Linked DNA regions of Homo sapiens: region 2 is linked to region 1. The links are contacts of gene promoters, found by promoter capture Hi-C in human tissues and cell types (Jung and others, 2019). All regions are on one chromosome and are shown on one strand. Each heading gives the region's core, a stretch centred on a gene start or on the middle of the fragment in contact. The rest is flanking DNA. Distances are from core to core; before and after follow the strand shown. Region 1 holds the start of TMPRSS7 (transmembrane serine protease 7). Region 2 overlaps PHLDB2 (pleckstrin homology like domain family B member 2).

Region 1 (5,310 bases), core at 2,711-5,210:
CATAAAATGGTAACTGCAGTGCACTGTTTAAACTAATTAATAGCTGTAGGGAAATGTTTGGTTTTTAAAATACAACCAAGATGAGACTGCAGAGTTATGAGCAGTTATGTTTTCACTAGAAAAGAGTGAATGAATAAATAAGATGATTTTTTTCATCAGTGGCCATTCATCATTTTGCTTTTAGGAACCTGGAAGAAATTGTCTTCTTTGAGTTTCAAATGTTCTGGTAAATCACATCATTTCTTAGCTTCCTCAATATCACCGTGAATTGCTGAAACAAGTGACTCTAAAGAATCCGAGAAGTTTTTTTCTGATTAGTAATTTCCTTTATGAGGTAGTCAACGATAGTCACATTGAGGATTTTCCCACAGAAGTCCTAGTTCACTGCAGCCTCAAACTCCTGTGCCCATGAGATCCTACTACCTCAGCCTCCCAAAGAGTAGCTAGGACTAATGGCGAACCACCACACCTGGCTTTTTTTTTTTTTTGTACGAACAGGATCTTGCTAGGTTGCCCATGCTGGTCTCAAACTCCTGGCTTCAAGTGATCCTCCTCCCTTGGCCTTTCAAAGTGCTGGGATGACAGGTATGAGCCACTGTGCCCAGCCAGAAGTCCTCTTTAAAGGCATGCATGGTAGGAGTTTTTGTGGATTTTTTGGGTATTTTTGCAGTATGGATTCCACCCTATGTTCACCACCATCTTATGGACATTTCCACTTCCAAACTGGCCCAACCATGATAAATGATGTGGATACACCAGTTGGAAGGTTATCTACCACTTATTCTGGATAGTTAGCTGTGGGGAGGCCCAGCTACTTGGAGCAGTGGCCCAGGCTCTGCACCACTTGGCTCCAGCAGAAGTATGGCCTGTGCCTCTGATACCATGCACTCAGGGCATGGGCGGTGGTGCAGCCTCCATGCATCTGGAAGAGCCACAGTCGAGGTAGTACCTGGACCCCGTGGACTAATCTGGGAATGTGGGTATGAGCTCTGCTGGCCGATGGAATCACCAGTTACCAGGCGGTGCCAACGACACCCTGTGGTAGGTCCTTCACACTGTTGACCCTACAGAAGCTGCCCAGCTACTCAGGGGCTGCTTCTCCTTGGAGTGGATCATTTCTCAACAATCTCTTCTCCTATACAGTAAAATTGTTTTCAGGAGGAATCATGAAATAAAACTAATAATAATATTGATGAGAAAAAAAGTGAAAAATTTTAGTCAACTTTGTATATATAATTATGCTAGCAAAAATAAAATTAACAAAATACATACTGCATACAGAATATTACATATAAAAATATTACACCTTGCAATTCATACCCTGTAACTGTATTAAATTTTAAATATAAATTAACTCATTGGTCACATAGAAGGACAAATGAAATAACTGAAATTCTGTTTCTTGGTCTTTACAATCATTGTGCTATTATTGCTTGTTTTGAACCTTCCCTTTAAATGCAGCAATATGTAATCCCACAGGGATTGCTGGAGGCAAGGACTCTGCCCTAAGTATGTGCAAATGATTCCAGACCATTAGAAGCTTACTCTTGAAATGAACATGTGTCACAGTCATCTTGTATTCTGTGGAGTCCTAATTAGGGAAAAGGAGTCGGGCTGGTGGAAGCAGGGGAAAGCAAAAAGAAGAAAGCAAATGAGCTGTAAGTCTGCCTTTCTTCATGGTCCAAGACATGTAGCCCTCCTGCACAAGTAACTCAAATAACTCACAATCTTCCTGCACCCGACTAATCACCAGACCCTTGACTGATAGAAAAATGCAAGTTAGCTCATTGTGACCTTGGCATTATCAGCACTCCACGTGGCCCTCTTGAGCACAAGCACCATCCTGTAAAATCCCGAGCCAGCCTTTGTCTCCTCGCAGCCAGCTCCTCTCTTGCTGATCTGCCTGTTGCTCTCTTGCAATGTATTTTCTTACTTTCTCTAATAAATCTACCTTTCTTTACCTACAACTGTCTTGGGAAATTCCTTTACCACCTGCACCACTGGCCCCAGATAGTTGTTACCCACAACATGTTTGAGACCAACTTTACAGTTGGGAGATTTCCAAATTAATTTCTGCATGACATTCATCACTTACTAAAAAATGAATAATAGGAATTGCTCATTATACACTTAAATAAGTATTATTCAAACAGTTGTAGTGGCAGTGATTGTTTAGAACTCATGGCAATTTTTTTTTTTTTTTTTTTTTTAGAGAGGAGTATTTTGTCACTGACATTATTTAGAATTGCTGGCATGATGATAGTGAAAAAGCAGCCTTTGGTTGGTTTTATGATTGCTTTTAAATTTGGTACATTTAACACAGCCTCCTGATATTTTGCTGCCACTTTTCACACTTGGTGGTGTGAAAGGGAAAAAAGGATGGGGGGACACTAGTTAAAGGCTGTAAAGACAGATTTTCTTCAGCACTGTTGCAACGGGAGAAAGTGAATTCGATATAGAGCTGAACTCAGTTCCAAATACAGCAAAGAAAGCTGGGGATTAGTAGTCAATGAAGAGAGTGAGGGGGTCCATGGTTGGAAAATTACTAAGGGGAAACACCAAGGGGCATCCTTGCTAAACTGACCAATCAGGATTCTTGTTACAGGCAGCCAAGGACTTACATATCAAGGGTAGGGGATAAAGAACTTGATCAGATATCAAGGGTATTTCAAGGCCACTCTTGAATCAAAAAAAAAAAAAAAAAAAAAAAGAAAGAAAGAAAGAAAGAAAAGAAAAAGAAAGCAAAATCAAGGGTGATCAGATATCAAGGCGGGGGGATTCCTGCTAAACTGACCAGATGGGCCAAAGACAAGGCCCAAGGACAAGGTCTAGTTGAAAAGAGAGCTCAGAGTAACCTGACAACACTTTGGTCAAGAAGAGAGTCTTTGTCAATGGCCACCGATAAGTATACAAATTTTACTTATATTGGTGAAATATGAGTTAGTTCTAGAAATAGGTAGAGAAATAATACTGGAAAGATGAGCCATTAAAAGTAATATTATAAAGTCTAAACCATTATTAATAATTTCATCAATGTGAATAATAAATAACAAAACCCAAGAGGCGAATTTGTACATGACTTAATTCTTTTTTTTTTTTTTTTTTTTTTTTTGTTATTCTGTCTCATCTTCCCCAAGTTAGATCAAATTTCAGGTATGAAGCAACTCAACTAATCTTTCCCCACTTTCAGCAGGCAGTTTCTCACTTGCCATATGCACAGCCCGTGAATGATGCTGAAGTTTGTGTCTGGATCAGCAGAACAGTGTTTCTCCTTTAAAGCGTGACAGATCAGCTTTCTGTTGACACCCAGTGCCCACAGGGTGATGAGGTTCCAGCAATCCCTGCCTTTTTCTCCCCGTCTGCTAAGAGAAATTCTGACACTGCCCCTCAGGATTGGATTATTCTTCCCACCATGGATCTAATTCAGATTGACATTGGGAAGTATGGGAGAGATGGAAACAGGGGCTTTACAGCAGAAAGGGCCCCAGGTTTACTGAGGACTGACTGCAAGAAGTAGGGGGAGCTAAATGGAAAAAAGTCCCTTTGGATTATGAGTTCTCAGAGAGTATGGCTGGAGAGTTGAGAGCAGGACTGAAGAGTGAGTCTCCTGGAGCAGGCAAGAGATGCCACGCAAGAGAAATGAGGTGTGAGGACTTCTCAGATGTGGTGCTGAGGGTTGTAAATTAGACCTCTTCATATTCTTTAGGAGATGCAAGAAAAAAATTATAATGATTTTTAAATGTTACTGGATTGTAGGATTGTGTTTCTTATAAGAAAACCTTGCCTTGAGGCTGGCTGTACTCTGAGAGGCCTGACTCCTATGAAAGTTACATTGAGAATCCTTGAGTTTGGGGTGCAAAGCTGAGTGCTAGGTCCCTTTAACATTTACAATATAGCAATGAGGCGGCTTCAGTTTCTGAACTGAACCCGGTGGAGGTAAATTGATTCCACTCCTCTGAAAGCTAGCTTGAATGCGGTGACGGTTCTCTCAATTCTTCTCAAGAGAGCATATAAGGGGCAAAAACTGGCTTTGAGACACCCCTGGATGATCACACACAAAACGCCTAATAATGGACAAAGAAAACAGCGATGTTTCAGCCGCACCTGCTGACCTGAAAGTAAGTACAGGGTGAGAAACTTTCTCTTACTTGAATGCCATTTATTGTTGACCCTGTTAGTAAAATGAGATTGTATGACCTTATAAACATAAAGGAAACAATAATAAAATATTTTATCTTCTTATGGTAATTAATGGGTTTTACAAATGTGAGCTTATTATAAAGTGCTGTACTTGGCAATTGATTTGTAGCCGTTTTTCTAAAACTCCAGGGAAATTGTACTGATCTCTACACAAATTCCATTTTAAAATTTAATCAGTGCTAACTGAGACTGCCTATAATGTGTTTCTGCACTTAAAAGATCCAAACTTGGCTTTGTCAGTTCAACATGTACTGGCATTTCTGCGTGTTTCTTTATTTCTTTTGGGGGAGCACTTGAAAGTAGCTTGATACCATCGACAACTCATTCTACAATGGAATGTTTCTCTCTTTAGAAACCCAGTCCTCATTCCTGCAGGACACCACATTAAATGATGTCTGGTCTAGTTCAATTTCACCAGAAAGGATACAAGCAACACTTCACTCCAGGGGTTGACAAGGTGTTTGGCAAAAAGAATGAAGGGGCCATGAATAATTCAGAGTGTACGTGGCCACGTATTATCCCATTAATTGGCAAGATTAAAGACTGGAGGGCATGAATTTTGAAGAGAAGAGTGAGGGAGAGGAAAAGAGAAGGAGAGAACTCTTAAGGACAGTGCAAAAGAGAGATTATTTCTTTGGCATTGGCATTCCATATTGTTGCCTTTAAAAGAATGTGTGGTTAAAAGCTATTTCGTCTCTGGAGTTTAGTTACCCTGACTTGTATAAATCTCTCCTTAAATGAAGCTAAACTCTTGAATACATTATTAAAGAATTCACAGCATCAAATAGCAGAGGGTAGACAAGAAAATAAAAGAGGAGGAAGGGAAACAATTAAATAATGTATTTTTTACTCTTGCACATAACACTATGCACATCAATACACTTAAACCAACAATTTTCTAATCTAATGAGTGTTCTATTTCATTCTTCCATTTACTTTTAAATAATTATTTCATTTATAATTGAGAAACTGTGGCTGGCAATGGCAGCGGCTGGCAATGGCAAAACAAACATATTTAATTCCTATAAACCCACAACCCTACAACCGTATGTAAACACACATGCTTTACGAACAATTTGTGCAGTTACAAATTGCACAAATTTGTACAAT
Region 2 (5,484 bases), core at 1,665-4,164, 170 kb before region 1:
TATTAAAGCGCCGAGGACCTGGCTAACTCCCGCCACCACCAGGAAATTAAAAGGCTGACAGGCTGTCCCTCCCAGGGTTGGGGTTTCCTGTTTGAAAGAGCTTGAGAAGTCAAACTGCTTCGCGGTTCCTCACTTACCTTTCTTATGTAAAAGAGGGAGCGACGCCCGCAGCTTTTTCTCTCGGTAAACTACCCGTGGCTGGAAATCCTCCGGGCGCCTGGCCCTGCCCTCTTCCCTAGAAATCTTTATCCTGCAACTCTGAAGTAGCTCTAAAGAGCTCTAGAATGCACAACTAGTCATAGCCAGGCACAGCTGGGAGTGTAACTAGACGAGGCATAAAAATGTGGAGTCTTTTTAGTGTAAATATTTGTCAGCCACATTTCCCTTCGTAATATGAACGTGTAAGTTACAGATGTAGGTTTTCAAGTATTGGACGTGTAATTTTAAGCTTCCTAGTTTGGTTTAATTTGGGCGTTCGAGATATGTCTCTGGGATTCTAACGTTTGAATTCGGCTGGGAGAGATCTAAATGAGGTCCACAGTTTCAGAAGGTTAAACTTTTGCCCTGTGAACACTTGAATTCTTGGTTCCTGGTAGGTTAGCAACAGAACTGTCGGATTTGGGATAAATAAACCGTTAGAGTTGCCCACTATTTTAACAGAATGGCTATATCTCTCTTGCCGTTGCCTTCAATTGTGTAAATATTTGTTTGAATAAAGAGCGAAGGTTCTTTGAAAAGTAACAGTTCTGTCTATTCTTGGCTCCCCTTTCATATCCTCTGCTTAGTTATTTAAAAGGATTTTCTTTGCCTCTTACATTTAATGGGGAAATTTAAACATTACATGTACTTAAATTCTGTAAAGTTACCAAACCATTTATAACTGGCAAATTATTTAATGACAAGGAAGAGTTGAGTTTGTCGTCTTAGTTGGCTAATGTAGCCTTCATCTCTTGAGACCCAGAGGTTTGCAGATCTCAGCCTGTCAGAAGTGGAAAAATGAGATGTCTGGTTAAGAGTAGTCATCATTTCAGTCAATTTGCAGGCCTCAATCTGTTTTATGCAGCTGGCAGCTGCTGTTCTTTTGGTGTTGAGATCGTCTGCCACGAGTGTCGCCTGGATCCCTGTTTGAAAAGGGGAGGAAAAGATACTTGGGAAATTGGACTGAGAGCTTGCTTACTCCTCCGTTCAATAACTGTGACCAAGCTGAAACTCGTTAGCAACCTTTCCAGAAACGTTTTATTTACCATGTGTGTTTGTTGTGTATGCAAGAGAGGAAAAAATAAGCCAAAGTGATTAACCAATCTCTGGTTTTCCCTATTTTCTTCAAAGCTCCATTTTGAGATCTATAAGCAAGGGTTGACTCTCGAGTTCATTGGAGAAGTTACCTCGGCTCACTACAACTTCTGCCTCCTTGGTTCAAGCCATTTTCCTGCCTCAGCCTCCCGAGTAGCTGGGATTACAGGCGCCTGCCACCACACCTGGCTAATTTTTCTATTTTTAGTAGTGACAGGATTTTGCCATGTTGGTCAGGCTGGTCTCAAACTCTTAACCTCAGGTGATCCACCTGCCTTGGCCTCCCAAAGTACTGGGATTACAGGCATGAGCCACCACACCCGGTCTCCTTTTAAATATTTTTAAAGGAGTAGTTAACGTTATGGCTTTATATCCTGATTTTCAACCCTTAGCAGGGAGGCAGTGCTATGGTGCTGTGGATGGCTTAGAGTGACAGTGGCTTTGTACATTTTCTAGGTGGAGTACCTGTGCCTTATGAATCTATCTGTAAAGTCTTGGTGTACCAATTGTTGATTGTGTAAATGTCACTCTTTTGAAACAAAAACACCTAAGTGATGTGCTTTATCTTAAAGTCCTGACATACATTAGAGCTGTGGTTTTCACTGGGAGAGGGGTTTTGGCCCCCAGAGGATACTGGCAACGTATTTTTGGTTGTAGCAACTGACAGGAGGAGAGTGCTACTGCCATATAGTGGGTAGAGGCCTGGGATGCGGTTAAGCACCCTGCCATGCACGGGACACAAAAACAATTATGCAGCCCCAAACCCTGCACTACAGTATTGCCTGGGGGAGTAGGTTAACAAGATTAGGCATCTTAATCTGATTTGGATCCTCAAGAAACTTGTTTAACTGTGTTAAACAAGAGACCCTTATCATAGAAGCCGTTTTGTATGCAGCAGATTCTTTTGTCCTTGCCATTTAGAGTCTTAATATACCATAGAGGTCGAGGAACTTGTGTTCATTGACAACTTTGAGATGGATTAAAGTCATGGGATTTGGGAGCATTAGAGCACAAGGGAGCCTCAGAGATCACTTAATTTCTACCCCTTCTTTTTATAGATGTAAAAAACTGAGACACTCAGAGCTTTAGGACTCATAAGGTCTCAAGCGAGCTAAGGGCGGGCAGACAAAGTTCTAGGTACAACCCAGGAGTTAAAAATTTTAAAATAGAGATTCAGGCAAATGGGAACAAAAAACAAAACACACTGGACCTGACCTTGTGTAAAAGTTTCAAAGCACCATTCCCTGTGAGAAAATAAATAAATGCTTCGATGGGGGAGGGGTGGCATTAGCCATAGAGACTGTGGGGCACGTGCCTGGGTGCCCCAGTCCCAGAAAGGGGTAATTCCATTATATGACCTGTGACACTCCACTTCTGATGCCTGTACTGTCCTTTCCATGGCAAAGTAGGCAACAGATGGTTCCACAGACATAGCAGATGTTGCTTTTGAATCCAGGTACAAAACAGAACATTTGAGATTTTCTGTTCCTCCCTGCCTTATCGGTTAAGAGTAGAGTACATGAATGGATAGGGCTGGCTTGGACAGAAGGGAGAATTACAGAGGCCTCCTGAGTATGGAAGAAAAAAAGACACCTGGCATATATGGAAATGAGCAAGTGTTGGGGAAATTGTGGGAGAAATTCATAAGCTGATGAGGGGATATCTAATATAAATTCAATTGCATAGAACTAGGATTAAGAATCAGAAGACAATTCAAGCTTAGCTATTCTTTCAGCATGTAGAACAAAATAACTATGGGGGTAAAAGGAACCTTAGAAATCCTCTTATCTGAATCTTTTCCCTCCAACCAACTAACTGGGTTAGATAGCGGCAGAATCTGCAAGCCTCCTGTTCTATTGTACTTTCTCCTGCACCCACAGTCTCTACCATTCCATGTGTTTACCTAATGGGAAAGAAAATGATAGTAAAGAAAGTTATTGTTAATTACTTGGGAGAGTTTAAAAAGCATGGTATTTGTGAATGGCTGTTTATAGAAAGGAGTTACCTTAATGAGTTTATGATTATCAGAAAAGTTGTACACCATAGCCTGATTAATTACAAACATGTATACTCTCCTGTTTACATTGCTATGGTTAGCCATTAGGCTCATGATTATAGATTCTAGTTCTGGGTGCCAAGCTGTCCTCCTGTGGTAGTTATTTTATCTAATACTCAAATCTGACAGGTTCTGGCCATATAGGAAAGTTTTTAGTATGCCTTTGGTGGGAGACATAAAACCTCTGAAAAGTGTTAAGATAGTTTCTTATCATTTTGACAACTAGCCAAAGGGTGCACCTCAAAGCCAAGTACATAGTGATATATTTAGAAATGACTCAAGAGTGATAGCCCTTTTAAGGGATCTGCCCCCCCGCAGGTACTATGCAAAAGGGGTGTAGCAGTCTTTTCATTATCATCTTTCATCTGGCCATTCTTGTTACTGTTTTTCAGATGATGGGAGAGGAGACAGGAGTAGTTTTTAAAAAAATAACTGTTGGCTAGAAATATTTATTGGGATTTGATTAAAGTAACTTGTCTTTTAAAAATAAATGAAACCAAAATTGTTAGCTCAGATTTTCAAATCCCTTCAAAGTAAACATTTAGCAAGGCAGAACTTCTCTCTATGTTCATCCAGGAATTTGAACCTTCTGGGAGTTAATTTGCTTACAGTTGTTTTCATGACGCTTAAGGATGTTTCTTAGACATTGCAGAAAAGGAGCTTTGTGCTGTATCTGCTTTAAAGGCAAGATAGTTGTCTATAGCAGCTAGTGGTCAATAAGAGAAACCCAAGTGTAAAAATCATTTTACTGTTGTGTGGGAAACTAGAGGTTGTAGGTAATTGCTATACAAAGAAACAGATTAATAAGATATAGAGTAACAGGGTTAGTCAAAAAGTTTTTGAGAGGATTTTTACAGGAGATACTTGTTTAGTGTGTTAGGTTGATTTTATTAGATGAAGTGCTTTTCCTTACTTTACAAAGTAAAAGGAAAGAAAATATTGTGTATGCCACTGTTTATCGATGGCCTTAAGCCAGGTCAGCTTTTTCTGAGACTTGCTGCTAATTCAGTGGGAATTGGTGTTGATCATCTTAGAATGTTTTGTTTGCACATTGCATGTGACTGCCCTAGATGGCAGTATGTTCATGGAACTAGCCTATGAAATAGCAAAAAAGTTAAAGATTACAAGAGTTTTCCAAGATTTCTTTCTTGACCACCCTACTGCTAAAACAAGGAAAGATAAAGGCAAAAGAAACCCAGCTCCTACATTCTTTTGACCAGTGCAGACCCAGTGTGAATAGTGCCGCACAGCCAAGAGATATTCAGAGGGGATTGAGAAGTGATGTCTGGCTGCCTCACTGCTTACGTCATTGCAGAAGTAGCTTTTCAAAAACAGCTTAAGATTTATTAAGGAAACTGCAAGCCATGGGAATGCAGACAAAACCTTTCTTATACATCATGCTCAATCAAATACCCATATTATATTACATTACCATAACTCTGACCAGGCCTTTTTCCCACTATGTTATGCTAAAACAATTTACCATGCCTTTGGAATGTCATGGGCAACAGTCCGGTGAAATCTTTTCCCAATTAGGTAGCTGCCACCTTATCACTAAAACTATTTCTGTTCTGTGGTCATTTCCATTTCCTGCATTATGTAATGAGCACTCCTGTGTTATTTAACCAGTATCTGTGGGAGTCCAGAAAGTTGGAGCAGAAAGAACATGTAGTTCACTCTCACCATGTTGAGTATGGAGAAACTCCTGTTGAAACAAAATGAAGACAGGCGAATTGACGTGCTCCAGATCTTAGTTCTGTTAGCAGAACCAGAACTAAGATGGATCTTCTGACTTGCTTCCCTGGCAGCCTATCCAGTGTTCTTTCTACTAGATTGGCCACTGTAATAAAAATAACATCCTAACGTAACCATTTCCTTTATTAGATCTTTTGGCCAGAGTTATTAAAAAAAAAGCATTGATTAAAATTAAATTAAACTTAGTCAATTGTTTATCTTGACTTGTTCAAGTTATTTCCCTTCTTTCAAGCAGTAAGTGGTCAAAAGGTAGATAGCATGGAAGGGAAAAATTAAGTGTTTTATAATACTCATTCTGCACAATCAGCTGCTAAGTAATGAAGATATGATATTATCATAATTATTATTTTTACTTTACAATATTTTAGAAACCTACCCCA

What was found. The method cuts DNA at HindIII sites, captures the fragments that hold promoters and counts their contacts. A contact is called where the count stands out against the background at its distance.
Region 2: a fragment that was not itself captured here is called in contact with the fragment with the promoter of TMPRSS7 in region 1 in 1 of the 25 tissues and cell types used here (bladder).

The regions. Positions count from the first base shown.
Region 1 is chr3:112,030,776-112,036,085 of GRCh38, forward strand. It overlaps TMPRSS7 (transmembrane serine protease 7), which reads left to right and starts at 3,961. Exons shown (of 18, transcript NM_001395507.1): 1 at 3,961-4,118. The coding sequence starts at 4,071. It also overlaps the pseudogene LOC124906250. The HindIII fragment of the contact is 15,104 bases long and covers 1-5,310 here.
Region 2 is chr3:111,860,523-111,866,006 of GRCh38, forward strand. The region is part of intron 1 of PHLDB2 (pleckstrin homology like domain family B member 2); the gene reads left to right. It overlaps LOC105374040 (a long non-coding RNA gene), which reads right to left and starts at 294. Exons shown (of 4, transcript XR_924333.4): 1 at 138-294. RefSeq lists an enhancer at 67-176. The HindIII fragment of the contact is 7,266 bases long and covers 1-5,484 here.